6 separate regions of the Homo sapiens genome follow, and regions 1, 3, 4, 5 and 6 are each linked to region 2. Evidence: promoter capture Hi-C in 16 types of primary human blood cells and fetal thymus (Javierre and others, 2016). All regions are on one chromosome and are shown on one strand. The core of a region is centred on a gene start or on the middle of the fragment in contact, and the rest is flanking DNA. Distances in the headings are between cores, read along the strand shown. Region 1 has its middle 8.4 kb from the start of LINC02574. Region 2 holds the start of GPR3 (G protein-coupled receptor 3). Region 3 has its middle 12 kb from the start of IFI6. Region 4 overlaps TRNP1 (TMF1 regulated nuclear protein 1). Region 5 holds the start of LOC101928391 (a long non-coding RNA gene). Region 6 has its middle 69 kb from the start of TENT5B.

Evidence for each region. Contacts are between HindIII fragments. The CHiCAGO score rates a contact against its expected background, and 5 or more counts as called.
Region 1: a contact is called between a fragment that was not itself captured here and the fragment with the promoter of GPR3 in region 2, in 10 of 17 cell types (erythroblasts, naive B cells, naive CD8 T cells and 7 more). The highest score is 8.2, in erythroblasts.
Region 3: a contact is called between a fragment that was not itself captured here and the fragment with the promoter of GPR3 in region 2, in 2 of 17 cell types (naive B cells and total B cells). The highest score is 6.5, in naive B cells.
Region 4: a contact is called between a fragment that was not itself captured here and the fragment with the promoter of GPR3 in region 2, in 1 of 17 cell types (erythroblasts). The highest score is 5.2, in erythroblasts.
Region 5: a contact is called between a fragment that was not itself captured here and the fragment with the promoter of GPR3 in region 2, in 1 of 17 cell types (M0 macrophages). The highest score is 6.3, in M0 macrophages.
Region 6: a contact is called between a fragment that was not itself captured here and the fragment with the promoter of GPR3 in region 2, in 1 of 17 cell types (M2 macrophages). The highest score is 6.9, in M2 macrophages.

What each region holds. Positions count from the first base shown.
Region 1 is chr1:27,652,179-27,656,399 of GRCh38, reverse strand. No RefSeq gene overlaps it. Among named protein-coding and RNA genes, the nearest start is that of LINC02574, 8.4 kb to the left of the region's middle. RefSeq lists a silencer at 1,487-1,889. The HindIII fragment of the contact is 5,418 bases long and covers 1-4,221 here.
Region 2 is chr1:27,390,588-27,394,438 of GRCh38, reverse strand. GPR3 (G protein-coupled receptor 3) reads right to left here and starts at 1,817. Exons shown (of 2, transcript NM_005281.4): 1 at 1,702-1,817; 2 at 1-645. The coding sequence starts at 640. RefSeq lists enhancers at 1-226, 1,055-1,590, 2,128-2,664, 2,665-3,201 and a silencer at 1,614-2,113. The HindIII fragment of the contact is 9,449 bases long and covers 1-3,851 here.
Region 3 is chr1:27,681,682-27,685,886 of GRCh38, reverse strand. No RefSeq gene overlaps it. Among named protein-coding and RNA genes, the nearest start is that of IFI6, 12 kb to the right of the region's middle. RefSeq lists an enhancer at 3,135-3,429. The HindIII fragment of the contact is 2,520 bases long and covers 259-2,778 here.
Region 4 is chr1:26,993,773-26,998,254 of GRCh38, reverse strand. TRNP1 (TMF1 regulated nuclear protein 1) reads right to left here. Exons shown (of 2, transcript NM_001013642.3): 1 at 3,643-4,482. The coding sequence starts at 4,468. The coding sequence ends at 3,785. Among named protein-coding and RNA genes, the nearest start is that of TRNP1, 2.3 kb to the right of the region's middle. RefSeq lists enhancers at 141-260, 271-330, 283-577, 88-693, 4,066-4,482 and silencers at 4,231-4,290, 4,321-4,482. The HindIII fragment of the contact is 2,158 bases long and covers 1,595-3,752 here.
Region 5 is chr1:27,028,973-27,033,272 of GRCh38, reverse strand. It overlaps LOC101928391 (a long non-coding RNA gene), which reads right to left and starts at 1,515. Exons shown (of 8, transcript XR_007065559.1): 1 at 1,444-1,515. The HindIII fragment of the contact is 2,970 bases long and covers 915-3,884 here.
Region 6 is chr1:27,080,318-27,084,343 of GRCh38, reverse strand. No RefSeq gene overlaps it. Among named protein-coding and RNA genes, the nearest start is that of TENT5B, 69 kb to the right of the region's middle. The HindIII fragment of the contact is 3,206 bases long and covers 509-3,714 here.

The sequences.
Region 1 (4,221 bases), core at 290-2,789, 260 kb before region 2:
CCTACTTCCAGGCCAATTCTTTCCTAAGCCTCATGAGGTCCTGAAGTGTCCTGTGGCTTTTGTTCCCCAAGCTGGGTCCCGCCCACAGTGAGGACTCACCAGCTGTGCTTTGGCAGCAGCTAAGAGCTGGCTGAATAACAGGAGTCATCCCTTCCTTCTGTATTTAGTCACTCCCTAAAACTGCAGGGGACCCCGACCAAATTAGGTAGTGGCCAAGGAGGTGTTTTGGAGAGGCCAAGCCCCTGAAACTAGGCCAGGCCACCTATTTGCTGTATCACTTAGGTCTGTTTCTTTCATGGAGCCTCAACTTACCATCTATAAAGGGGGTGAATTATCCTTTCTCAGGGCCTCTGTGTGCAAGGATTCAGGAAAGCTGCTCTCCTCTCTGCCAGGCCACCTCACCTTTGCACCTTCACCTTGAGGAACAGATCCCCACCCCACCCCCCCCGGCCAGGGTCCTTTTGTTGGCAGAACTCCAGCATAAACTGCACATAACCTGATTGTTAATGGGGGCCACAGATCCGGGGTTGGGGGCCCAGCTCCCCAGCTTCAGCCCTTCCTGGCCTTGGTTCCTGCTGGGGAACAGGCTCTGTCATCATGTCTGCTTCCTCTTCTTTCTGTGGCCTTTGCAGAGCCATTTCCCAGGGGGCTCTGCCTCTCCTGCCTCCTGTCTCCTCCTCTGTCTTCCCACCCTTCTTCCTCACACAGTGTTTATCCGCGCCTACTCTGGGCCTGGCACTTGGCTCATAGAGCTGAATAAGCTCAGGGCCTGTCCTTGCAAAGCTCACAGTTTGATGGGGGAAAATGGACAAGGAAACCAAGTTACAATTTATTCACCCATCCCAAATCCTATTGCCCTCCCTGCCGCTACCCTCACCCCTGCAGTCTGCACTCCACGCAGTAGCCTGAGTGATCCTGTTAAAACGGAGGTCAGAACATGTCACTCTTCTGCTCAACCCCCTCGCCCCCCCCATGGCTCCTGGTGTCAGAGGAAAAGCCAATGTCCTTGCTGTGACCTACAAGGCCCTGCGTGATCTACCTCACTGCCTCCCACTCTCTGCTCTGATCACTCCCTTCCAGCTGCACTGGCCGCCTTGCTGTTTTTCAGCATGCCAGGCGTGCTCCTGCCTCAGGCCTCTGCATTTGCCCTTGGCCCTGCCAGGCATGTCTTCCCCCAGGTAGCCACGTGGTCTCCCATCCTTCACTCAGGTATCTCCCCCTCATCCAGGGGACTTCCCTGGCTGCCTATCTAAATATTACCCCTTAGTTGCCTTCTGCTCTTTTACCTGCTTTATTTTTTTTCTTAGCCACTACCAAATAACATGTAATTATTGATTTTCTTTTTCCTGCAAAGGCATAAATCCCATGAGGTCTCCTGAGGTTCCCCACCCCCAAAAACAAACAAAAAAAGGACAGAAGAGAGAGAAAGAAAAAGAATGCCAGAAAAATTCTGGAAAAAAAAAAAGGCAACACTCACTGACTACTGTTAGATAACAATATTTAAAGCCTCAAAAATTAAAACAACTTGGGGCTTGATGGGGTGGCTCACGCCTGTAATCCCAGCACTTTCGGAGGCCAAGGCGAGTGGATCACTTGCGGTCAGGAGTTCAAGACCAGACTGGCCAACATGGTGAAACCCCATCTCTACTAAAAATACAAAAATTAAGAGCCGGGCATGGTGGCTCACGCCTGTAATCCCAGCACTTTGGGAGGCCGAGGCAGGCGGATCACCTGAGGTCAGGAGTTCGAGACCAGCCTGGCCAATGTGGTGAAACCCTGTCTCTACTAAAAATACAAAAATTACCTGGGTGTGGTGGTGCATGCCTATAGTCCCAGCTACTTGGTAGACGGAGGCAGAGAACTGCTTGAACCCGGGAGTTGGAGGTTGCAGTGACCCAAGATCATGCCACTGCACTCCAGCCTGGGCAACAGAGTGAGACTCCATCTTAAAAAAAAAAAAAATACAAAAATTAGCCAAATTAGCCTGGCCTGGTGGCAGGCGCCTATAGTCCCAGCTACTCAGGAGGTTGAGGCAGGAGAATCACTTGAACCCAGGAGGCAGAGGTTGCAGTGAGCCGAGATCATGCCACTGCACTCCAGCGTCCTAGACGATGAAAAGAGATTCCATCTCAAAAAAATAAAATAAGAATAAATAAATAATTAAGTCTGGGCATGCTGGCTCATGCCTGTAATCCCTGCACTTTGGGAGGCCGAGGCGAGTGGATCACTTGAGGTCAGGAGTTCGAGACAAGCCTGGCCAACATGGTGAAACCCCTTCTCTACTAAAAATATAAAAATTAGCCAGACGTGATGGTGGGTGCCTATAATCCTAGCCACTTGGGAGGCTGAGGCAGGAGGATTGCTTGAACCCAGGAGGCAGAGGTTGCAGTGAGCCGAGATCAAACCACTGCACTCCAGCCTGGGCGACAGAGCGAGACTCGGTCTCAAAACAAAACAAAACAAAAAATAATAATTAAAACCACTTGGTTTGGTTCAGGAAGAGACAAACAGACCAATGGACTAGAATAGAAAGTCCAGAAATAGACCTAATTGCACGCGAGAATTTAGTATTTGATAAAGGTGTCCTCTCAAAGTGGAAAATGGACTCTTTAATAAATGGTGTTGGGACACCTAGGTAGCCAACTAGGAAAAAAAAAATTAGATCCGTGCCTCACACTGAGCACCAGGATGAGCTCCCAAGGGATAAAATATTTAAATGTTTGAAAAATCAAAATAAAACCGTAAAGGCACTAGAGGAAAACATGGGAGAATGTATAATCTCATAGTGGAGAAAGTTTAACCATGACTCAAAAATCAAAAAGCTGTAAAAAGAAAAGATTGATAAAGTCAACTATATAAAAATCAAAAACTTCTGCATGGAAAAACACTATAAATCAACGCATAAGACAAATGACAATCTGGGGGAAATATTTACAACTCTAATCACAGACAAGGGAACATCTCGCTTATTTAGAAAGAATTCCAGGAAATTGATTAATCTTATAGAAATAGAGGCCTAGGCCGGGCGCGGTGGCTCACGCCTGTAATCCCAGCAATTTGGGAGGCCAAGGTGGGCAGATCACCTGAGGTCGGGAGTTCAAGACCAGCCTGACCAACATGGAGAAACCCCGTCTCTACTAAAAATACAAAAAAATTAGCTGGGCATGGTGGCGCCTGCCTGTAATCCGAGTTACTCAGGAGGCTGAGGCAGGAGAATCGCTTGAACCTGGGAGGCGGAGGTTGCAGTGAGCCGAGATCACGCCATTGCACTCCAGCCTGGGCAACAAGAGCGAAACTCCATCTCAAAAAAAAAGAAAAAAGAAAAAAAGAAAGAAATAGAGGCCTAGCATATGAACTGACGGTTCCCAGAAAAGTAAATATAAGTGATTCTTAAACACATAAAAAGAAGCTCAAACTCAAAAGAAATGCAAACCAGAAAAACTAGACTAGAATATTGCTACAGTTTGAACATTACGCCGCGAAAAGCAGGTGCTGGGAACTTAACCCCATACAACAGTGTTGGGAGGTTGGGCCTAAGGAGAGGTGTTTAGGTCATGAGGGTTTCACCCTCATGAATGGATTGGTGGTGCTGTTATAGCAGGAGTGGGATTATTATTCTGGGAACAGATTCATTATAAAAGGGCAAGTTCAGTTCCCTTTTCTTCTCTGTCACCCTCTCTTTGCTCTTCCACCATGGGATGACACAGCAAGAGGGCCCAAGCCAGATGTGGGCCCCATGATCCTGGAATTCCCAGCCTCCAAAACTGTGAGCCAATACACTTCTGTTTATGATTAATTATCCATTCTGTGGGATTTTATTATAGCAGCACAAAATGGACTAAGATACGATGTCTTATCAGTCTGGCCAAAAAAACCCCAAAAGCTGAATAACATATTCTGTGAGCATTTCTATGAGGAAATAGTACTACTCTCACACATGTTCTCACACATGACTCTCACATGTGTGAATATAAATTGGTAAAAGGGCATTTTGGCAAAATCTATCAAAATACCTTCAGATAACCTATTTCTGGGAATTCATCTTCGGATAGACTTGCATGAGTAATAAATGATGTATGTATAAAGTTATTCTCTGCAGCACTGTTTCCATAGCCAAAGACTGGAAACAACCCAACTGTCGATTAGTAAGGGGCTAGACTAGGTAGAGCACAGTCCATCCACAAAATGGAATACTATATGGCTACGAAAAAGAATCAGGGA
Region 2 (3,851 bases), core at 568-3,067:
CGTAGAGCTGCAGCATGATGCCAAACACCATGAAGAAGGCAATGGCCAGAACTACCAGATGGTTCTTGGAGAGTGGATAAACCACGCCACATGTGGTCAGGCCATCCAGGCAGTTCCAGGCCAGCACAGGCAGCAGCCCCAGGCCCAGGGCACCTCCCCACACTAAGGCCAGCATCACATAGGTCCGTGTCACTGTTGTCTCTGAATAGTAGGTGAGGGCATTGTACAGAGAAAGGTAGCGGTCGACAGTGATGGCCAGTAGACTGCCGATGCTGGCGGTAAAGGCCATTGCCAGCACGCCAACCAGCACCAGGCTCATCTCCGCTGAGCCGATGCAGAAGACAGCAGCAAAGTGCAGGACCAGGCCCAGGCCTGCCAGCAGGTCTGCCACGGCCAGGCTGCCCACCAGCAGGAACATGGGGGCACGGAAGGCAGGAGTGCCCACGATGATGGCCACCACTAGCGCATTCTCGCAGGACACCAGGGTGCCTGAGATGCAGAGCACCACATCCCAGGCCTTAGGCGAGGGCAGTGGTGCGGCTGGACCTGTGGGCCCCTCTGCTGGGCCCACGCTGCTTACATTCACGTTGCCTGAGCCAGCTGAGAGCCAGGCCAGAGGGCTGCCTGCACCCCACATCATGGTACCTGCAGGAGAAAGGCCTTGTGAGAAGCTGACCAAGCTGGGTGATGGGAGTTGGGGTCTGGAGGGGGTGAGGTGCTTCTCAGGATACGTGGTGGGAGTCTCTCCTCAGGATACCTGATAGGGTCCCAATGCCTTATCCCCACATTCATGCCCTGGGGCTCTTCCCAGGATACCGCTGTCCCCTCCAATGCCCCCAGGCCTCTAAACAGGGGTCTCTTCCTGGGGATCCCTGTCCTAGGTCCTGCAGGTCTCTTTTTCCCACGTGTGTGACCAGAGGAGAGACAGAAGAAGGGGTACTATAAGTGGAAGAGGGCCATAGGATCCAGGGGATGCCCCCGAAGGCTCAAGATTGGGGTAGGGAAACATCTACCCCATCAGGGAGACTGAGCAGCTCCGCTCCCTCCCATCAGAGATGATGATGCTAGCTCGTGCCTGAGGCTCCCAGACCCCTCACGATTTTCAGTACTGCCAGCCTTAGACTCCGCCCCCAGGGAATGCGCGTGAAGCTCCCGCCAGCCATCACCCCGCACTCCCGCGGTAACACCTGGGAACTCAGCCCCCCACCCCCCACCCTCCCAGACTTCTGTTCCTGGCTGGACCCTTCTTTCCGCCTGAATCTCTAGGTCTCTGGGCAGACCCCCCTGCTGGAAGACTGGATCCCTGAGTCAGATGCCTCCTTCTGCCCGGACACCTGGATTTTGGGCCTGACTCTGCCTCCTGCCTGGATACCTGGATTCCTAAATTGGACACCTCCTGCTGTTCGGACCCCTGGGTCCCTGCCCCAGACGCCTCCTGCCGGCTTAACCTCAGATGACCATCAGTCCCTCCAGGGCCTCGGGTCCCTGCAGGAATGCTTACCCTTCGCCGGGTCATCCAACTCAACCCCAGCACTCGAGCACTTGGGCCCAAGCCTGCTAACCCAGAATCGCCTAAACCCAGAATTCCCACCTCGAACTCGAACCCCGGCCGGCCACTAGGAGCCTTCCGCCGGCCCAGTGCCCCAGCATCCTGCGTGCCCTTCAGGACCCCTGGTGCCCGCGGCGGGGCCCGCTACTCACCGCTCAGGACCAGGCGCGGCCGGGCCGCGGGGAGGCTCCGCTCGGGTCCTGGCGGCGCAGGGCGTGCGTGGACCCCGAGAAGCCCCCGCGGCCGCGGGAGAAGCGGCGTGAGTCACCCCGCCCCGCCCCCGGCCACCGGTTCGGTGACGTCAGCGGTCCGATCAGCCAATGGGCGCGGCGCGCTGGGGCGCAGCGCGCGTTGCGCGGCATAGTAATAAGGCCTCGCACCGCCCGCTCCCCCATTCATAAAAAGCGACCGTGGCTGCGGCCCCGCCCCCTCCCGAGTCCGCCCGCGCTGTCCTTGACGCGGCGCCCTCTGCGGGCCGGGGGTTTCAGAGGCGCCGGTGCGAGAGCCTTGAAGTCTCAGAGAGGCTGCAGGGAACGTGGTGGAAGAGTGGAAAGGGGGCCCGGCTAGGCTGTGGGGTGATGGGACCCTTGGGTGGCAGAGAGGCTGACGAGATCCAGGTGACGAAGGAAGAGCTTGTGATGGGGCTGGTTGGGCTTCCCTGGTGAGAATGACAGGGTTTCCAAGATGATGGGGCCCTGAGGTGACGATGACAGGGAGCACGAGGGAGCGGGGAGGTGGGTGGCAGTGACGACATTAGCATGGTGACAGAATCTTGGGGTGGGGGGTGATGGCCGTGGGACGCTAACGGTAGAGGGGAAGCCCTCAGGGCAACCATGGCAGTGTCAGGGTGACTATGCAGCAGGGGGGAGTTCAGGGACCCCGGGATGGCAGAGGCAGCGGCCTGGGAACATGGAGTGTCCAGGTGACTTCAGGTCACCATTACCCTGTCAGAATGGCTGGGGTACTGAAGCGACAATGCTAAGCCATGAGGACTGTGGGGCCCTGGAACGAAGATAGCAGGTGGCTGTGGTGAGTGGGCTCCAGGGTGAGGGGCACAGGGTAGAGGGTCTGGACTGACAGTGACCAGGCAGGTAAGTTGCTGCCAGGGCAAGTCCCGTGATGCCGGGGCTGGGATAAGAGCTGGGTGACGTCACTCATGTCAGCCCAATAGCGCCCTCACAGCACCGGAGGGGTGGGCCTGGCAAGATTTCAAAACCTGAATTATTTATTCCAGTATCTAGAAAGCCAGCGTGGAGGGGGTGAGGGGTGCACTTCCCTGAAGCAGGAGGAGATGGGGAGCCGGGAAGAACTTGGAAGCAGAAAGCCTGGCAGCTCAGTCCTCAGGGCAGGCCCCTCTCAGCCTCCTATTTTAGGCATCCTGATGGGTGGAGCAAGGAGAAAGAGCTCCCTCTTCCCCAACGCCATCTGCCCTTAGTCCAGGGGAACCACTCTGGGCAGACTTCTCCAGATGTGACAGATGTGGCCAGTCCTGCGGCAGGGGGACTGGCTGCTCCTTCTCCCTGTGTCTCTTGCCTTGATGCTCCCTGGAATCATGCAGGCCTGTGGGAGGGGAAGATGAGGTTAAGAGGCCTGAGGATCCCAGGCCCCACTGGACACCCCCATCACAGCACCATCACTGCAGCCCCCATGGTCAGCCTCCACCAGGCAGGTTTTGGGTTTGAGTGTGAGGCAGCAGAAGGTCAAGTGGCAGGGAACATGGGAGGAGGAGGGGGTCGGAGCTGGAGAAGAGGATTCATTTCAGGTTGGATGTGGTGAGTTTAGGGGGCTTAGGGGGTGGAAGTGTCCAATCTCAGTTTCTCCATTTCCTAGCTGGGTGACTTTGGAGAGTTTCTTCAGCTCTCTGTGCCTATTTCCTCATCTAAAACACAGGGATAATATTAGTACCGGCCTCATGGGGTTGTTGAGTGGGTTCTACTTGCCATTGGCCATCAATGTTACAGCTGGATAATGAGGGACACCTGGGAGGTGTAGGCATGCAGGTGGCAACTGATGTTTTAGGGGTAAATAATGTCACCCAGGGGCGGGAGCAGAGAGTGAGGAGTGGCTTCAGGGGCTCCTCCTCCTGGGCTCTTGCACCTGACCCCTCTGACAACAACCCTTCTCTTCATCCAGGTCTCTGCTCCCGAATTACTTCTGAAACAGGCTGCTCTGAACTCTCAGATCGCCACTGGCCTCCCCATCACTCTCCCTCCCCTTCTCTTGATTTATTCATTTTTGGAGGATGAAGCACTCTTGAAATTATAAATGAATTCATGTTTGTTTGTTTTACTACATGTCAGCC
Region 3 (4,205 bases), core at 269-2,768, 290 kb before region 2:
TGGGTGCCTCCCCCGACTGCACCCCATCCTACCTTCCCAGCGTGGAAGCCAGAGTGGCTGGTGAAGGGAGCTTAGGAGAGTCACCTTCAGCTGGGCCAGTGGCTCTGTGAGGAAAACCTGTGCTGTGGCCACGCGGGCACCACCAGCTGCAGCTCATCAGGAGGACTCGGAGAGGGGGACGGCAGAGAGAGGGCTTTGGGCACAGCCTGCTGTTTTGTTTTTTCTGTTCCCTAAAGTTTACTTCATTTTCTTGAAGCTTCCAGGGTTTTGTTGTTGTTTGCCAAAGTAGAAAGGACAGGTGGCAGGCGGGGAGGGTGAGTCCCAGCCCCTCCTCTGCACCAGGGCTGCCGCGGTGTCATGGCTCTTATGAAGGGAAGCATAAGACCCTCACTCAGTGCGTTTGGTTTTCTTTTCAGGATTTCAGAGCCCCTGGGAGGAGATCCCATTGGTGGGTCTGGACATGCGGAGGTCAAGGCACCATCTGGCCATGGTCCTCTCCAGCCTCCCCAGAAATTGACCCACATGCTGGGTGTTGAAACAAGGTCCCTCTATCCCTTGCAAATAACAGCTTTGGAATTAACAGCTTTGGGGAGCTACCTTGTCCTCCCAAGGGTGCAGGGCTCCACAGAGCCAAGGGCCAGGCAGGGGCTACCTCAGCCCTGTCTCCTTGGGCACCAAAGCAGGGATTTGTTGAAGGAGAGAGCCATGTTTGCCCTTTTCCTAAAATGCTGCTGTAAATAAACAGGTCCCCCAGCAAGCAAGGAAGCAAAGGAAGGAAGGAAGGAAGGAAGGAAGGAGAAGGAAAGAAGAAAGGAGAGAGAGGGAGGGAGAGAAAGAAGAGAACACTGATAAGGGTGAAACTAAGAGGAAAAAGAAAGGGGAGAGTCATGAGACTCGTCTGAGCAGGATGGAAATCCTTAGATGGTTATTAAGAAATAGGATGAGTAAAATAAAAATTAATGAGGTTTTAAAAAAGGAAATTAATGCAGTGAAAACAAATGTCTTTTTTTTTTTTTTTTTTTTTTTTTTGAGACAGAGTCTCGCTCTGTCACCCAGGCTGGAGTGCAGTGGCATGATCTCAGCTCACTGTAACCTCTGCCTCCTGGGTTCAAGCAATTCTCCTGCCTCAGCTTCCCAAGTAACTGGGATTACAGGGACCTGCCACCACGCCTGGCTAATTTTTGTATTTTTAGTAGAGATGGGGTTTTGGCATGTTGGCCAGGGTAGTCTTGAACTCCTGACTTCAGGTGATCTGCCAGCCTCGGCCTCCCAAAGTGCTGGGATTACAGTCATGAGCCACTGCGCGTGGCCAAAATAAATGTCTTAATACAACACTATTGAAGGTTGGGTGGACCAAAGAGAGTCTCTGATGGTCTTCAACATTAAAGGCCCCAAACCAGTTTGCTCTATTTCCTCCAGTTTGGTGGAATTTTAAAAGCAGGAAGGTAAAGATTTACAATAAGAAACCCTACCTGGAATTGCCTGGGGTGATGGTCAGACTGGTTAATCAAGGGAAGATTGACAGAGAGGCCAGAGTCTCCTGGCCTGGCCTCTGGCTAAGGACCTAAACACTTATTGCCCAAGAGAGAATAAAATGGTCTGGGGAGGGGGTGGAGAAGAGAAGTTCCCGGGACATAAAAATATACTTGGTCAACAGGATTCTGAAAGTGGGAATGTCTAAACAGGCTTTACGTAAAGGCTTAATGTAAAGTGGTTGTGTCTCCTTTACCTAATGTTTTATGGAAATGGGCATTGTATATGACAGGGTTGTTCCCTCTACCTAGAACTGTAAAACAGAAGGCATGTAAATCCACCCTTCTGGAAATTTTAGTTGGACATGCTAAATGGAAACCCAAGCCCACACTGTAGAGTAGAAGCTGGAGTGCTGATAGGGACAAGTTCTCCATTCGATAGCTCTTTGTGGAGCATTTGCTGGGGCTATGACAAAAGCCTATGAGTGGCTGGGCATGGTGGCTCATACCTGTAATCCCAGCAATTTGGGAGGACAAGGCAAGAGGATCATCTGAGGTCAGGAGTTCAAAACCAGCCTGGCCAACATGGGGAAACCGCATCTCCACTAAAAATTTGAAAATTATCCAGGAGTGGTGGTGGGTGCCTGTAATCCCAGCTACTCGGGAGGCTAAGGCAGGAGAATTGCTTGAGCCCGAGAGGTGAGGCAGAGGTTGCAGTGAGCAGAGATGGTGCCACTGCACTCCAGCCTGAGCAACACAGCAAGACTCTGTCTCAGAAAAAAAAAAAAAAGAAGAAGAAGAAGAGAAAAGGCTGTGAGCACCTGCAAGCAAAGACTACTGAGATTTTGGACTAGACAATTTCCACTTGAGGGGCACTTACTAACTTGTTACGGGACATTAACTGAAGCTACCCCTGTGACTGAAGGACATAAAATGATCTTGACACCTGAAATACCCATGCGATCTCAGGTGATGTCACAGAAACACTCAAATAGAGACAGCAGTGTCCAGAAGAGTTCCATAACAAAATGGAAATGGCTTATACAGAAGCATGCTACCTGGGGAGTGCCAGGAGGAGATAAAAGAAAGGAGCCTCTTTTCTGCTAGGACTGGTTTGCGTGAGGAGCTGCTGGCTTCTACAGTGTCCCATAACGGCTCTCAACTGGCCAGCAAACAGCTTGGTTTGTGGATGGCAGTTCCAAGGTGAATGGACAACATTCTGTTTGGAAGGCTGCTCTGTTGATCAAAGAAGTGTGAAAATAAATAAAATGTAAACCTTGTTGGAACCCCACAAACACCTTAAGCTTTGAGAGAGATGTGACTGTGATCTTGTAGCAGGACAAGCCACGGACAAAACCCCTCAGACACTGAGTTAAAGAAGGAAGGGCTTTATTCGGCTGGGAGCTTCGGCAAGACTCACATCTCCAAAAACCGAGCTCCCCAAGTGAGCAATTCCTGTCCCTTTTAAGGGCTTACAACTCTTAGGAGGTCCATGTGAGAGGGTCATGATCGATTGAGCAAGCAGGGGGTATGTGACTGGGGGTGGCAGGCACTGGTAATCAGATCGGAACAGAACAGGACAGGGATTTTCACAGTGCTTTTCCATACAATATCTGGAATCTATAGATAACATAACCTGTTAGGTCAGGGGTCAATCTTTAACCAGGCCCAGGGCATGGCGCTGGGCTGTCTGCCTGTGGATTTCATTTCTGCCTTTGAGTTTTTACTTCTCTCTTTGGAGGTAGAAATTAGACAATATGAGGGGTGGTCTCCTCCTTTAATCTGAGTCTCATATGGTTACTACTTCCGTTTCTCAGATTATAGATTAACTCGCTTTCTTGTTTGTCTTATTCTGTACAATGACTAAGAGAGTTACATGATGTCAGGAATAAAAACCACCCTTCTTCCTAATGAATGACCCTTTGTGTAGATTAACTTCCCCATTGTTGTCCTGCTTTGCCTAGACCAGATAACAGAAAACCCATGACTATTACACCCTCTGTAAAAAATTTTAAATGCACCCATTCCAAAAAGAAACACTGCATAAACCAATCAAATTGCTGTACCTATGCACCAATTGTGTGTGAAAAATGTAAGGCCAGGCATGGTGGCTCACACTTGTAATCCCAGCACTTTGGGAGGCCAAGGTGGGAGGATTGCTTGAGGCCAGGAGTTTGAGATCAGCCTGGGAAACAAAGCGAGACCCTGTCTCTACAAAAAGTAAAAAAAATTAATTAGCCAGGTGATATGGTTTGGCTCTGTGTCCCCACTCAAATCTTATCTTATAGCTCCCATAATTCCCACATGTTGTGGGAGGGACCTAGTGTGAGATGATTGAATCATGGGGGCAGGTCTTTCCCATGCTGGTCTCATGATAGTGAATGGGTCTCACAAGATCTGATGGTTTTTAAAATGGGAGTTTCTCTACACAAGCTCTCTATTTGCCTGCCACCATCCACATAAGATATGACTTGCTTCTCCTTGCCTTCCGCCATGATTGTGAGGCCTCCCCAGTCATACGGAACTGTAAGTCCATTAAACCTCTTTCTTTTGTAAATTGCCCAGTCTTGGGTATGTCTTTATCAGCAGCATGAAAATGGACTAATACAGTAAATTGGTACCAGGAGTGGGGCGTTGCTGAAAAGATACCCGAAAATGTGGAAGCTACTTTGGAACTGGGTAACAGGCAGAGGTTGGAACAGTTTGGAGGGCTCAGAAGAAGACAGGAAAATG
Region 4 (4,482 bases), core at 1,424-3,923, 400 kb after region 2:
CAAAGGAGCTTCCTTTGCTCCCCCCTTTTTTTTTCAGTAGAGGCGGGGTTTCACCATGTTAGTCACGATGGTCTCGATCTCCTGACCTCGTGATCCGCCCGCCTCAAACTCCCAAAGTGTTGGGAGTACAGGTGTGAGCCACCGCACCCGGCCTTGCTCCCCTTTCAAAGAGGGTTCCCGCCCCTAGGGAGCCGGTGATGGGCACAGCTCTGGCCTCTAGTCCCACTCCACCCAGGAAGCTATCCCCAGAACTACACTCCCACTCTAGGGCTGCGCTGACCGCGACTACCCTGCTCGTTCTCCCAGGCCCCTGCAGCTCAAGGTCTAGGAAGCCCCGGGGACTACCGGGCAAAGGGATGATTGGGGGCAGGAACAATAAAGGACTGAACCTCCTCCAGGCCACACCCCTTCGTCTCGAGAAAGCAGCCCCACACTGCCCTCTGGTGGCAACGCTCACATGGTTATCCAGTTGAGGGGCAGGTCCCAGATTAGAACCTTGAACTGGTCTCCCAGCCCCAAGCACCAGCCTGAAGAAAGGCTCCTGTTCCCCCCTCATTTCCCTTTGCTGAGATATAAATTCATTGGTGGCCGTCAGTGTCCTCAATGCACAGGTCCCCCAAGATCCCTGTACTCAGTCCTGTCCCCAGAGCTGGGGGCCACCAAGAAAGTGTTCTGAAAGTCATGTGGGGAAAAGGGGTGGGTCAGCCTTCTGTCCGAGGCTAGAGCTGGCCTCCAACAAACTGCTCAGCCCCCAAGGGATCCCCTGGGATGGTGACAGCCAGAAAAGCCTGCCTGGAAAAGAGCCAGGAGACATAAGCCCTTAAAAGTAGAGACCCTCCTCTGATTTGGCTCTGCTTTCTGAGCCCCTATCAATATTTGCTAATTAAGAAGAAAATGGAGGCAGACGGGTGAGCTTTTTTTTTTTTTTTTTTTTTTCTTGAGACACAGTCTTGCTCTGTTGCCCAGGCTGGAGTGCGGTGCAACCTCCACCTCCCGAGTTCAAGCAATTCTTTCTCAGCCTCCCGAGTAGCTGGGATTACAGGCACCTGCCACCACGCCCAGCTAATTTTTGTTATTTTTAGTAGAGAAGGGGTTTCACTATGTTGGCCAGCCTGGTCTTGAACTCCTGACATCAAGTGATTGGCCCTCGTGGGCCTCCCAAAGTGCTGGGATTACAGGCATGAGCCACCGCACCCAGCCTGAATAAAGCCAGACGGGTGAGCTTCTAGAGGGGGCCCTGGAGGGTCAGGCAGGTGTGGGAGGTGCCTTTTGTTAGTTGGCTATGTGGTAATGGACATAGCACTAACTAGGAGCTGGGGTTCAAGTCTACATGTGTGTGCCCTGGCCAGGAAGCTTGATGAGGAGCAGTGGGACATCTGGAAGTGGAGGGAGGGGGCAGAGCTGCCTGTGACACCAGGACCAATCTCCATTTACTACCCTCTACTTCACACACACACACACACTAGCCAGTGTCGTCTCTAATTCTCTACTCACCCACCCCACCCCCAAATCGGGACAAGCTGATTACAAATAAATCCTGGAGAAAGCCAAAACTGTGATGGCACCGAGCACTTTACACCATTAGCTAAAAGCTTCTCCGGACCAAGTGCCCCCTCCCATGCAACCCAGAAAACAAATGGTCCTGGCTGCAGCCCAGCACCAAGGCCTGAGCTCAGCTCTTTCCAAGATGTCCTGTCCTCTCTAAGCCTCTAGACCCCAAATGACCCAAGTGGCTTTGGAAGGTGTTCCCTGTTTGGAAAGACCAGAGGATGGCATTGCCCCCTTCATTACTTCCCTGGGGTTCCCTAACTTTGTCAGAGGCTCTGAGACTCCCTCCTGAACCTCCCTTCCCCAGCTAAGAAAGGGTTCAGGAAAGCCTTGCTGTTAGCCGAGAAACCAGCCAAAAAGTTTGGTATCCAGGGAGAAGGGCTGATGAGGGAGGATCCCATAAGGGCCCCAAGCCTCAGCCTATCAGAGCAGTGCACCTGACCCTCCCAGATTCCTGTGGAAGGAAGCATCCTCCCCACTTCACCCCATTCCCAAGCCCTGACTCAAGGAGGGACTGAGGAAAGAGGCCCAGAGAGGGGGCAGAGTTGTTCTAAGTCACAGAGCAGACAGGATCCAGAGGACAACTCTCCCTAGCCCCTGCCCAGGGTACTGTGGGAGGTGCACACACAGGCCAGGGACCTTGATTCTTCCCTCACTGGCATGTGACCTTGAGAAATCCCCTCTCCACCCTGCAAAAGTAGGACTTTAAATTAGCTCATGGCTCTATCAGCAAAAGCAGTGCCTGTTTCCAGGTGTGAGTTAAAATAATACATTATCAGCCAGGTGCAGTGGCTCACACCTGTAATCCCAACACTTTGGGAGGCCGAAGCGGACAGATCACCGGAGGTCGGGAGTTCAAGAACAGCCTGACCAACATGGAGAAACCCGGTCTCTACCAAAAATACAAAATGAGATGGGCATAGTGGCACATGCCTGTAATCCCAGCTACTTGGGAGGCTGAGGCAGGAGAATCGCTTGAATCCGGGAGGTGGAGGTTGCAGTGAGCCAAGATCGCACCATTGCACTTCAGCCTGGGCAACAAGAGCGAAACACTGTCTCAAAACAAACAACAACAACAAAAAAATTATCTTTCCATGATTTAGTGAGGAAGAAGAAGGACCTCTGCCCTGGGTTAACGTCACCACAGCCCCTCTGGGAGGTTAAGAGATCCACTTCGCAGACTGATAAGTGAGAGTGAAATTAACTCAGCTGGTGAGCAGCAATGTGGTAGCCAGGTCATTCACAGTGGGGACAGAGGAATGGGAGACTGAAGGGCATCTGGACAGGAAGAGAAGCAGATCTCACCTCAGATCTGGCTCTTTAAGGCCCCCCTTTCTGGAAGCTGATACCACACCTGCCCCCTTGGGGCCTGTTAAAGGGTATCACCTGGTTCCAACCTGGCCGAGCCATCTTAGTAACAGGTTGGGAGTTAAGCCTCTAGGTTCTGCTATGTAAGGATCCCTGGGTGAGCAGGTGCCAGACATCCTGTCCTGGTTATGTGAGTCAGGCTGTAATTTTTGCGAACCTGCATGACGGCATAAGAAAAGCTGTCTCCTAGAAGAAGAAGGGCCTAAGTATGAAGAGAACAAATCCTAAACCTCTCTGGGATTCCGTCTCCCCAAAGGTGAAACAGGCCTAGAGGGGGAATTCAGTGGTACAGCCCTGTGCCAGCCTCCACCCCATCCTGGGGCCTCATTATTCTGTCCTCCCGAAGGCACGGAGCTGGGCGGCGCCAGGAAGCAGCATCCTCAAGGGCAAGACTGCTCACAGCTCCGAGGGGCCCGGGAAAGGCCACGCAAGTGGGGGTGAGGATGGGGGGTGCTGCATCCGTGCGGCAGGTTCCAAGTGGTAAAAGTTTGCCGCCAACCCGTTCCTGGGATCTGAGCCCCCTCAAGAGTCCAACTCTTATAATGGAGACTTGATGCTACCACCTCTCACTCTCCAGATGGTCGGGAGAGGCGGCAACAGAAAGTGGCAGCTTTACTAGGGACCCAGCAGACGCCAGAAGCTCCAGGGAAGGGAGTTCCCGGGCCCTGGACCAGCCCCCCACACGCCATGACCGACCCTCGAACGCACCAGCCGCTAAGACCGCACCTCAGCCTCCTCTACTGGGCCCCTGGCCCCCAACTGCCTCTTCCTGCGGATCCGTAGTCCTTCCAGCCGGCGTCCGCGATCAGTCGGTCGGTCGGCACCTCGGCGAAGCTTGTCGGGGTGGCCAGGGGTCCGGGCGTGGAGGTCAGCGCTGCGGGGAGGCGGGGCCGCGGGGCGGGCTGCGGCGGAAGGGCGAGTCGGGCTCGGGGCCGTGGCCGCGCCGCAGTCGCCCGGCACCCCAGGGCACGCAGCCGCCCAGGCCCAGCGCCGAGGCCAGCAGCGCGGGGGGTCGGCCGCGGCGGCCGCGGCGCGGGCCCTTCTTGAGGCGCGACCCGTGAGCCGCCAGGTAGAGCTCGGCCTGCGCCACGCCGCCGCTCAGGCGGCTCAGGCTCTCCGCGCGGTGCGCCAGGCGCAGCTCGGCCGCCAAGAAAACGCGGTGCAGCTGCAGCACGCGGCTCTCCAGCTCCGACACCAGGCGCCGGCGGCCCTCCACCTCCAGCAGCCGCCGCCGTGCTTCGGCCAGCTCCAGCGCGCGGCCCCCCGCCCCCGCAGCCGCGCCAGAGCCCCCTCCGGGGCCGGCGAGCCCCGCGATCCCGCTAGCGCCCTGGCGCCAGCGCTGCAGCTCCTGGTCCTCGGCCGCGCCTGCTGAAGCCCCAGCTGCGTCCGGCAGCGGCGGGGACTGACCCGGGGTCGGGGTAGGAGTCAAGGTCGGAGTTGGGGGCGGGGGCTGAGAGGACGGCATGGGATCCCAGGGCGGCGGCGGCGACCTCTGCTCTGCCGTCCCCTCCTGGGCCCCCGGGCCGCAGGCGCTGATGCGGCAGCCCGGCATCCCCCGCCCCCCAC
Region 5 (4,300 bases), core at 1,150-3,649, 360 kb after region 2:
CTCCCACGGTACCCAAACACAGGCCCCAGTTGCTCAAGCAGGAAAGACAGGGAGCTGTGAAAGGCTCAGAAACTTCATCTGAGACCCTAAGGAGTGGGGGTCAGAACCTTATCTGGCTTCTGAGCTTGGGCAAGACCCTTCCCCTCGGTGGGCCTGAGCTTCCCCCTCTGTATAATGGTTTAGACTTCCAGCTCTGGTATTCGAAGTTAAGGATCCTGATGGTGGCCAGGCGGGGTGGCTCATGCCTGTAATCCCAGCACTTTGGGAGGCCGAGGCGGGTGGATCACTTGAGGTCAGTTGTTTGAGACCAGCCTGGCTAACATGGCGAAACCCTGTCTCTATTAAAAACACAAAAGCAGGCCAGGCGCAGTGGCTCACACCTGTAATCCCAGCACTTTGGGAGGCCGAGGCGGGCGGATCACCTGAGGTCAGGAGTTCAAGACCAGCCTGGCCAACATGGTGAAACCCCGTCTCTACTAAAATATACAAAAATTAGCCGGGCGTGGTGGCAGGCGACTTAATCCCAGCTACTTGGGAGGCAGAGGCAGGAGAATCGTTAGAACCCAGGAGGCGGAGGTTGCAGTTAGCTGAGATAGAGCCATTGCACTCAAACCTGCGGGATAACAGCGAGACTTCTCTCAAAAAAAAAAAAAAAAAAAAATACAAAAGCAGCCGGGCGAGGTGGTGCACACCTGTTATCCCAGCTACTCCAGAGGCTGAGTCAGGAGAATCTCTTAGAACCTGGGAGGCGGAGGTTGCCGTGAGCCGAGATCGCGCCACTGAACTCCAGCCTGGGCAACAAAGGGAGACTGTCTCAAAAAAAAAAAAAGGATCCTGATGGAAATTTAGAGCCCCACGTTCAAGGGTTGGAATGGTATTCCTGGATAATCCAGGCCCAGAAGACCCAGAAAGCTTCTCCTAAAACATGTATGGCATATCAGGTTCAGGTCCTGGAATGTCCTCTGAGCTCTAGCACCTTGTCCTAGTGACTTGGCCTCTCTGGGCCTCAGTTTTGCCATCTGTCAAATGGCAAGAACACCGAGTTTATGAGGATAAAACATGACAGTGGCAAGAGAAGTGTCCTGTAAACTGCAGAGTGCAGTCCTCCTGGGAGGGAAGGACAGTTGTTGTTGTTGTTAGGGGCTCATGTTTTGCCTTCCAGCGGCGCCGGGCGAGCAGATTAGCCTGGCCTCGTTCTCACGGTGGGAGACCTCCTCCGTCCTCCCCAGGAACCACGGCCCCTGCCCTGCCCAGATCAGCAATAGCCCTCCATAAGCCTCCCACCTGGAGGGAGGTGGCGGGCAGGGAACAGCCAGGTAACCGTGGGCTCCTCACTGCAAGGGCCCAGCTCAGATTGAAGGCAGAGGGAACGAGCGAGCGAGGAGGAAGTGGGGAGAGACGGAAGGAGGGGCAAGCGAATCAAAGCACTAGGGATTTACTCACCCAAGCAGGGACAGGGAAGGAGATGGGGCTAGCAGGGCGGGGGACGCCCATGCGCCGCCCCTTCAGAGGACAATTCCCGGGGCCTCACTCCCTCCCACTCTCTCCCTCCCCCGCGGCCCATTCCCGGTGCGACTCCTCCCGTGGGAACTGCTGTCGCTGCAGCGGGCGCCCTGCCACGTGGATGCCAGGAATCAGACTGGGCGGCTGCGGCAGGGCGGGCGCTTCCCTGGGCAGCGATCAGGGCAGGCCTGGGAGAGGGCTGACCCTCACTGGGGTCTGGGGAGAGGGCGGCTCTGGGCGGAAGGGCACCTCGGGAACTGGACGCCCTGGGCTTCGCAGCCCCTCAGATCTGCAGCCAAGGTCATCTTTTCCCAGCTTGAGGAGCAACAACTGGGCACCACCTGGGAGCAGGTTAGAAATGCAGGCTCTCAGGTCTAGCCCCAGACTTGCTGACTCAGAACCTGCACATTCCAAGGAATGTGCCCCAGGTGGCTCCCGGGCACTTTCAAATTTGAGAAGCCTTTTTTCTACAAGAGTAGGCCTGAGTATTTACAGGTTTAAAAAGACGCGGTGGCTCACGACTGTAATCCCAGCACTTCGGGAGGCCGAGGCCGGCTGATCACGAGGCCAAGAGATGGAGACCACCCTGGCCAACGTGGTGAAACCCCGTCTCTACTAAAAATACCAAAAAAAAAAAAAAAAAAAAAAAAATAGCTGGGCTTGGTGGCGTGCGCCTGTAGTCCTAGCTACTCGGGAGGCTGAGGCAGGGAGGATCGCTTGAACCCAGGAGGCAGAGGTTGCAGTGAGCCGAGATCGCGCCACTGCACTCCAGCCTGGTGACAGAGCAAGACTCCGTCTCAAAAAAAAAAAAAAAAAAAAAAAAAAAGACAGACAAGGCCAAGGCCAGGCACGGTGGCTCATGCTTGTAATCCCAGCACTTTGGGAGGCCGAGGAGGGCGGATCACTTGAGCCCAGGAATTCAAGACCAGCCTGGGCAACACTGTGAGACCCAGTCTCTACAAAAAAAAAAAAAAAAAAAAAAAAATTAGCCAGGTGTGGTGGCGTGCACCTGTAGTCTCAGCTACTGGTGAGGCTGAGGTGGGAGAATAGATTCAGCCCAGGAGGCAGAGGTTGCAGTAACCCTTGATTGAGCCACTACACTCTAGACTGGGCAACAGAGCGAGGCTCTGTCTCAAAATAAATAAATAAATAGGCTGGGCGCAGTGGCTCACGCCTGTAATCCTAGCACTTTGGGAGGCCGAGGCGCACCTGAGGTCAGGAGTTTAAGACCAGCGTAGCCAACATGGTGAAACCCCGTCTCTACTAAAAATACAAAAATTAGCCAGGCGTCGGCCAGGCGCGGTGGCTCACGCCTGTAATCCCAGCACTTTGGGAGGCCGAGGCGGACGGATCACAAGATCAGGAGATCAAGACCATCCTGGCTAACATAGTGAAACCCGTCTCCTCTACTAAAAATACAAAAAAAATTAGCCGGGCATGGTGGTGGGCGTCTGTAGTCCTAGCTACTCGAGAGGCTGAGGCAGGAGAATGGCGTGAACCCAGGAGGCGGAGCTTGCAGTGAGCCGAGATCACGCCACTGCACTCCAGCCTGGGCGACAGAGTGAGACTCCATCTTAAAAAAAAACAAAACAAAACAAAAGAAAAAAATTAGCCAGGCGTGGTGTCACATGCCTGTAATCCTAGCTACTTGGGAGGCTGAGGCAGGAGAATCACTTGAACCCGGGAGGAAGGGGTTGCAGTGAGCCAAGATCACGCCATTGCACACCAGCCTGGACAATAAGAGTGAATAAGAGTGAAACTCCATCTCAAAAAAAAAAAAAAATTAGTAGTGTATAAATAGACCACATAATCTATGAATTGTATTCCATTATAGGAAAGGGGCATTGCAAGATACTTGTTACAAAAGGGGGCGTGAGGCCTGCTGGGGCTGGGAACCCACTGAGGAACACTCACTCCTGTTTTCAATCAACAGCATGGCTCTGAGGAAACAGAAGCAGGAACTAAATGGCGCTTGAATCTGAGGAGCTTCTACCCTGGCAGGCGAGATGAGATAGAGACGCAAATCGCCACCTTCCTGAGCCTCAGTTTCTTCACCTGTGAAATGGGCTTTCTCACCACTCACCTCTGCCTGCCTCCCTGCAGGGTCGGATCAGATGGGCCGAACCAGCTTCTAGACAGGGAGGGGCTTCATGAGCCGCTCCACACCTGAGGGAAGGGAGATTGGAACATCTGCCCTGCTCACATCGTGCCAGGGACAGCTCAGGCTTCTGTGCCTATCTTGGTCTTCAGACTCCAGCCTCTGGCCCTGCAGATTCTCTCTCAGGGCCTCGTCTGCTTTCTCTGGTGTCCCTCTCTCTTCCACCTTCCTTCTCCACTCCCCTGTATCCCCGCACCACCGAAATCCACACCTGTCTGAAGCTTGTACCAAATTAGCAAATTGGCAGTTTCTGAGGAGGGCAAGCCAGCCTTGACTACATACCAGACACTGCTCACACACTGGGTCTTTTATGCTAGCCCTGAGAGGTAGATGGTGATGACCTAATGAATAGAGGAGAACACCAAGGCTCAGTGAAGGGGAAGGGTTCGCACCCAGGTCACCCAGCCAATAAGAGGCCAAGATGGGATAAGAACTGGAGCTTTGGCCGGGCATGGTGGCTCACGCCGGTAATCCCAGCACTTTGGGAGGCCAAGGTGGGTGGATCACCTGAGGTCAGGAGTTCAAGACCAGCCTGACCAACATGGAGAAACCCCATCTCTACTAAAAATACAAAATCAGCCAGGCGTGGTGGCATATGCCTGTAATCCCAGCTACTTGGGAGGCTGAGGCAGGAGAATC
Region 6 (4,026 bases), core at 862-3,361, 310 kb after region 2:
CAGGTTGTTGGGGCCACTGTGTGCCCTGCTGTCATTCAATGCCAGGTTCCTTCCATCTCATTGCTCCTCTGACATCCCCTAAGGTGTCCTCCTAATTTTCATGGTCAAACCATGGTCCGTGTTTAAACCACGGGAAGGAAATGAGCATGAAGGAGAAGGCACCTAAATTCTAAAGCCTGTAGTTGGAGGTGACACACATCAATTCTGCTCACATCCATTGCCAATAACTTATGACATAGCCCCACCCAGCTGCAGGGAGGCTGGGAACTGTAGTCTCTAGGTGGGCAGCTAAGTAACTCTACTGTTTATACAAAAGAAAGAGAGAATAGATTTTGGTGGACACCAAGCAGTCTTTGCCATAAAGGGTATTTTAGCAAATGAGCATGATAATTGCAATATGTTATCTTGTAAATTTATTTAATAATTCCCCTGTTTTGAACACATTTGCCTATTATAACATTTTACCTATTATAACTAGTTTGCCAATTGACATCTCAGTACATAAGCTTTAGGGAGTACAGTTTCTGGTAAACATCTTCCTAAAAACATCTTCCTGAAAATCAATGACCAGCTAATAATGAAATCACCAGTCAAACGTAAGTGAAATGAGAGGTAAGCCTGTTTTTTCCTGAGATCATTTGCTAGCCAGGTATACAGGGGCTTCAGGTTGGGTGGTCTCACAAAGTCCAGAACTTAACCAAGAAGGAGAATCTGATATGAGACCCCAAAGTGTCATACTCTCAGAGTAAGGGTGAACCAGAAGAAACCAATCCCCCACCCCCAGGGGCCTGCAAGGAAATATGCCCTGGTGCCACAAAGAGCAGGAAGAAGACAATCAGATATCTGAGAAGTTGCATCCTGACACTACCCCTTATGCAGAATCGCACAAGAAACTCACATCACCTCCCATGCTCTACACATCTTCAAACTGTGAATTCAGTTGAAAATGACCTCGGGCTTGTAATGCCCCTAGTACCTGATAGAAGCAAATGCAAATGTTCTCTGAAGGAATGCACCATCATCCTCAGCCTCAAGATTTCAATAAATTATGTGTTTTAAAAATGCAAACTGGGCTTTTAAGAGACAGGGTCGGGGCTGGGCCTGGTGGCTCACGCCTGTAATCCCAGCACTTTGGGAGGCCAAGGCTGGTGGATCACCTGAAGTCAGGAGTTCAAGACCAGCCTGACCAACATGGAGAAACTCCGTCTCTACTAAAAATACAAAATTAGCCGGGCATGGTGGCACATGCCTGTAATCGCAGCTACTCGGGAGGCTGAGGCAGGAGAATCGCTTGATCCTGGGAGGCGGAGGTTGCGGTGAGCCAAGATCGCGCCATTGCACTGCAGCCTGGGCAAAAAGAGCAAAACTCCGTCTCAAAAAAAAAAAAAAAAAGAGAGAGACAGGGTCGGCTGGGTGCAGTGGCTCACGCCTGTAATCCTAGCACTCTGGGAGGCTGAGGCGAGTGGATCACAGGGTCAGGAGTTCAAGAGCAGCCTGGCCAAGATGGTGAAACCCCGTCTCTACTAAAAATACAAAAACTAGCTGGGCGTGGTGGCGGGAGCCTGGAGTCCCAGCTACTCAGGAAGCTGAGGCAGGAGAATCGCTTGAACCTGGGGGGCAGAGGCTGCAGTGAGCCAGGATCAAGCCACTGTACTCCAGCCTGGGAGACAGAGCAAGACTCCGTCTCAAAAAAAAGAAAAGTGAACTGTTAACCACGCAAACAAGGGAATAAGGTACCATGAGAGACCATAAAAGGCAGATATTTTTAAGTATGTTAAAATTCAGAGACCCCATAAAGAGAATGAAAAAATGAGGCATAACATGGAATAATACTTGAACTCATAAAACTAATAAAGAAGTTCTATCCAGAATATATAAAGTACTCCTACAAATCAATAAGAAAAAGACAAATCCAACTGGGCGCGGTGGCTCAGGCCTATAAATCCCAGCACTTTGGGAGGCTGAGGCAGGCAGATCACGAGGTCAGGAGATCGAGACCAGCCTGGCCAACATGGTGAAACTTCATCTCTACTAAAAATATGAAAACTAGCTGGGCGTGGTGGCGCATAGGCTGTAATCCCAGCTACTCAGGAGGCTGAGGCAGGAGAATCACTTGAACCAGGGAGTCGGAGGTTGCAGTGAGCCGAGATCACAGCACTGCACTCCAGCCTGGCGACAGAGCAAGACTCCATCTCAAAAAAAAGAGAAAAAGACAAATCCACTGATAGAAAAATAGACAAATTGGCACACCTGTAATTCCCAACAGTTTGGGAGGCTGAGGCCTACAGATCACTTGAACCCGGGAGTTCAAAACCAGCCTGGGCAAAATGGTGAGACCCCCATCTCTACAAAATACACAAAGATTAGCCAGGTGTGATGGCATAAGCCTATAGTTCAAGCTATTCAGGAGGCTGAGGTGGGAGGATGGCTTGAGTCTGGGAGGTCAAGGCTGCAGTGAGCTGAGATCATGCCACTGCACTCCAACCTGGGCGACAGAGCAAGATTCTGTCTCAATTTAAAAAAAAAAGAGAAGAAAAATAAATACATATAATAGGCATGTGACAGAAAAAGAAAATTCAAATGGCTAATAAATATATGGAAAAGTGCTTCACTCCATAAATAAGCAGGGAAATGCAAAAACTGTAATGAAATACCATGATACATGTGCCAGTTAGGAAAATTCAAAAGCCTGGCAATGTCAAATAGTGGCGAGGACGTGGTGCAGCACGGCCTCTCATATGCTGCTGGCGTATATCAGTATAACGACCTCCCGGGAGAGTTTGGCATTTTCCAGTAAAGTAGTATAAATACTCAGGCCCTAAGACTCAGAAACAGGACAGGAAAAATCCCCTAAGAAGTGTATGCACTATGTACCAGAAAACATGTCCACAAATGTTCAGAGTAGAATTGTTTATGTACACTCAAAGTGAAATAATTCAAATGCCTGTCAATAGTAAAGTGGTCCCTGCACTTTGGGAGGCCAAGGTGAGCAGATCACTTGAGCCTAGGAGTTCGAGACCAGCCTGGGCAATATGGCAAGACCTCTGTTTCTACAAAAAATACAAAAATTAGCCAGGCATAGTGGCACATGCCTGTAGTCCCGGCTACTCGGGAGGCTAAGTCAAGAGGATCACTTGAGCCCTGGAGGTTGAGGCTGCAATGAGCCAAGATCACATCCAGCCTGGGCAACAGAGTGAGACTCCATCTCCACAAAAAAAAAAAAAAAAAAAAAAAAAAAAATATATATATATATATATATACAGTAAAGTGGATAATTTTTATAATCATACTATGGAATATTAAACAGCAATGAAAACAAACAAACTAGAACTTCACAATAACATATATTGATGGTGTAAATCCAATGGTGAACAAAAGAAGCAAACACAAGAGATCTACAGGGAATGATTCCATTTACATAAAGTTCAAGAAGAGAAAAATCTAAATTATATTGTATAGGGATGGATAAACTAGAAAGAACCATAAAACTATACTGGCAGACAGAGATTATCATAAAAATACAAGGATGATTACCCTTAAGAGGAAAGGAGGGATGTGATTGAGAAGGGGCACGTGGGGATTCCTGTGGTGCTGGAATTATTTCCGTTTCTTGAGTCGGGTGGTGAATACACAGATGTTTATTTTATAATTACACATTATGCACTTCTAATTTATGTACCTTTCTGTTTGTGAGCTATATTTTATAGTTAAGCTTTTAAACAGAAAGAAGTTATTATGAATAGCTTTATGCTAATATATTTAAAGATTTAGGCAAAATGGGCCAGATGCAGTGGCTCACGCCTGTAATCTCAGCACTTTGGGAGGCTGAGGCGGGTGGATCACTTGAGGTCAGGAGCTTGAGACCAGCCTGGCCAACATGGTGAAACACTGTCTCTACTAAAAATACAAAAATTAGCCAGGCATGGTGGTGGGCACCTGTAATTCCACCTATTGGGGAGGCTGAGGCAGGAGAATCACTTGAACCAGGGAGGTGGAGGTTGCAGTGAGCCAAGATTGTACCACTGC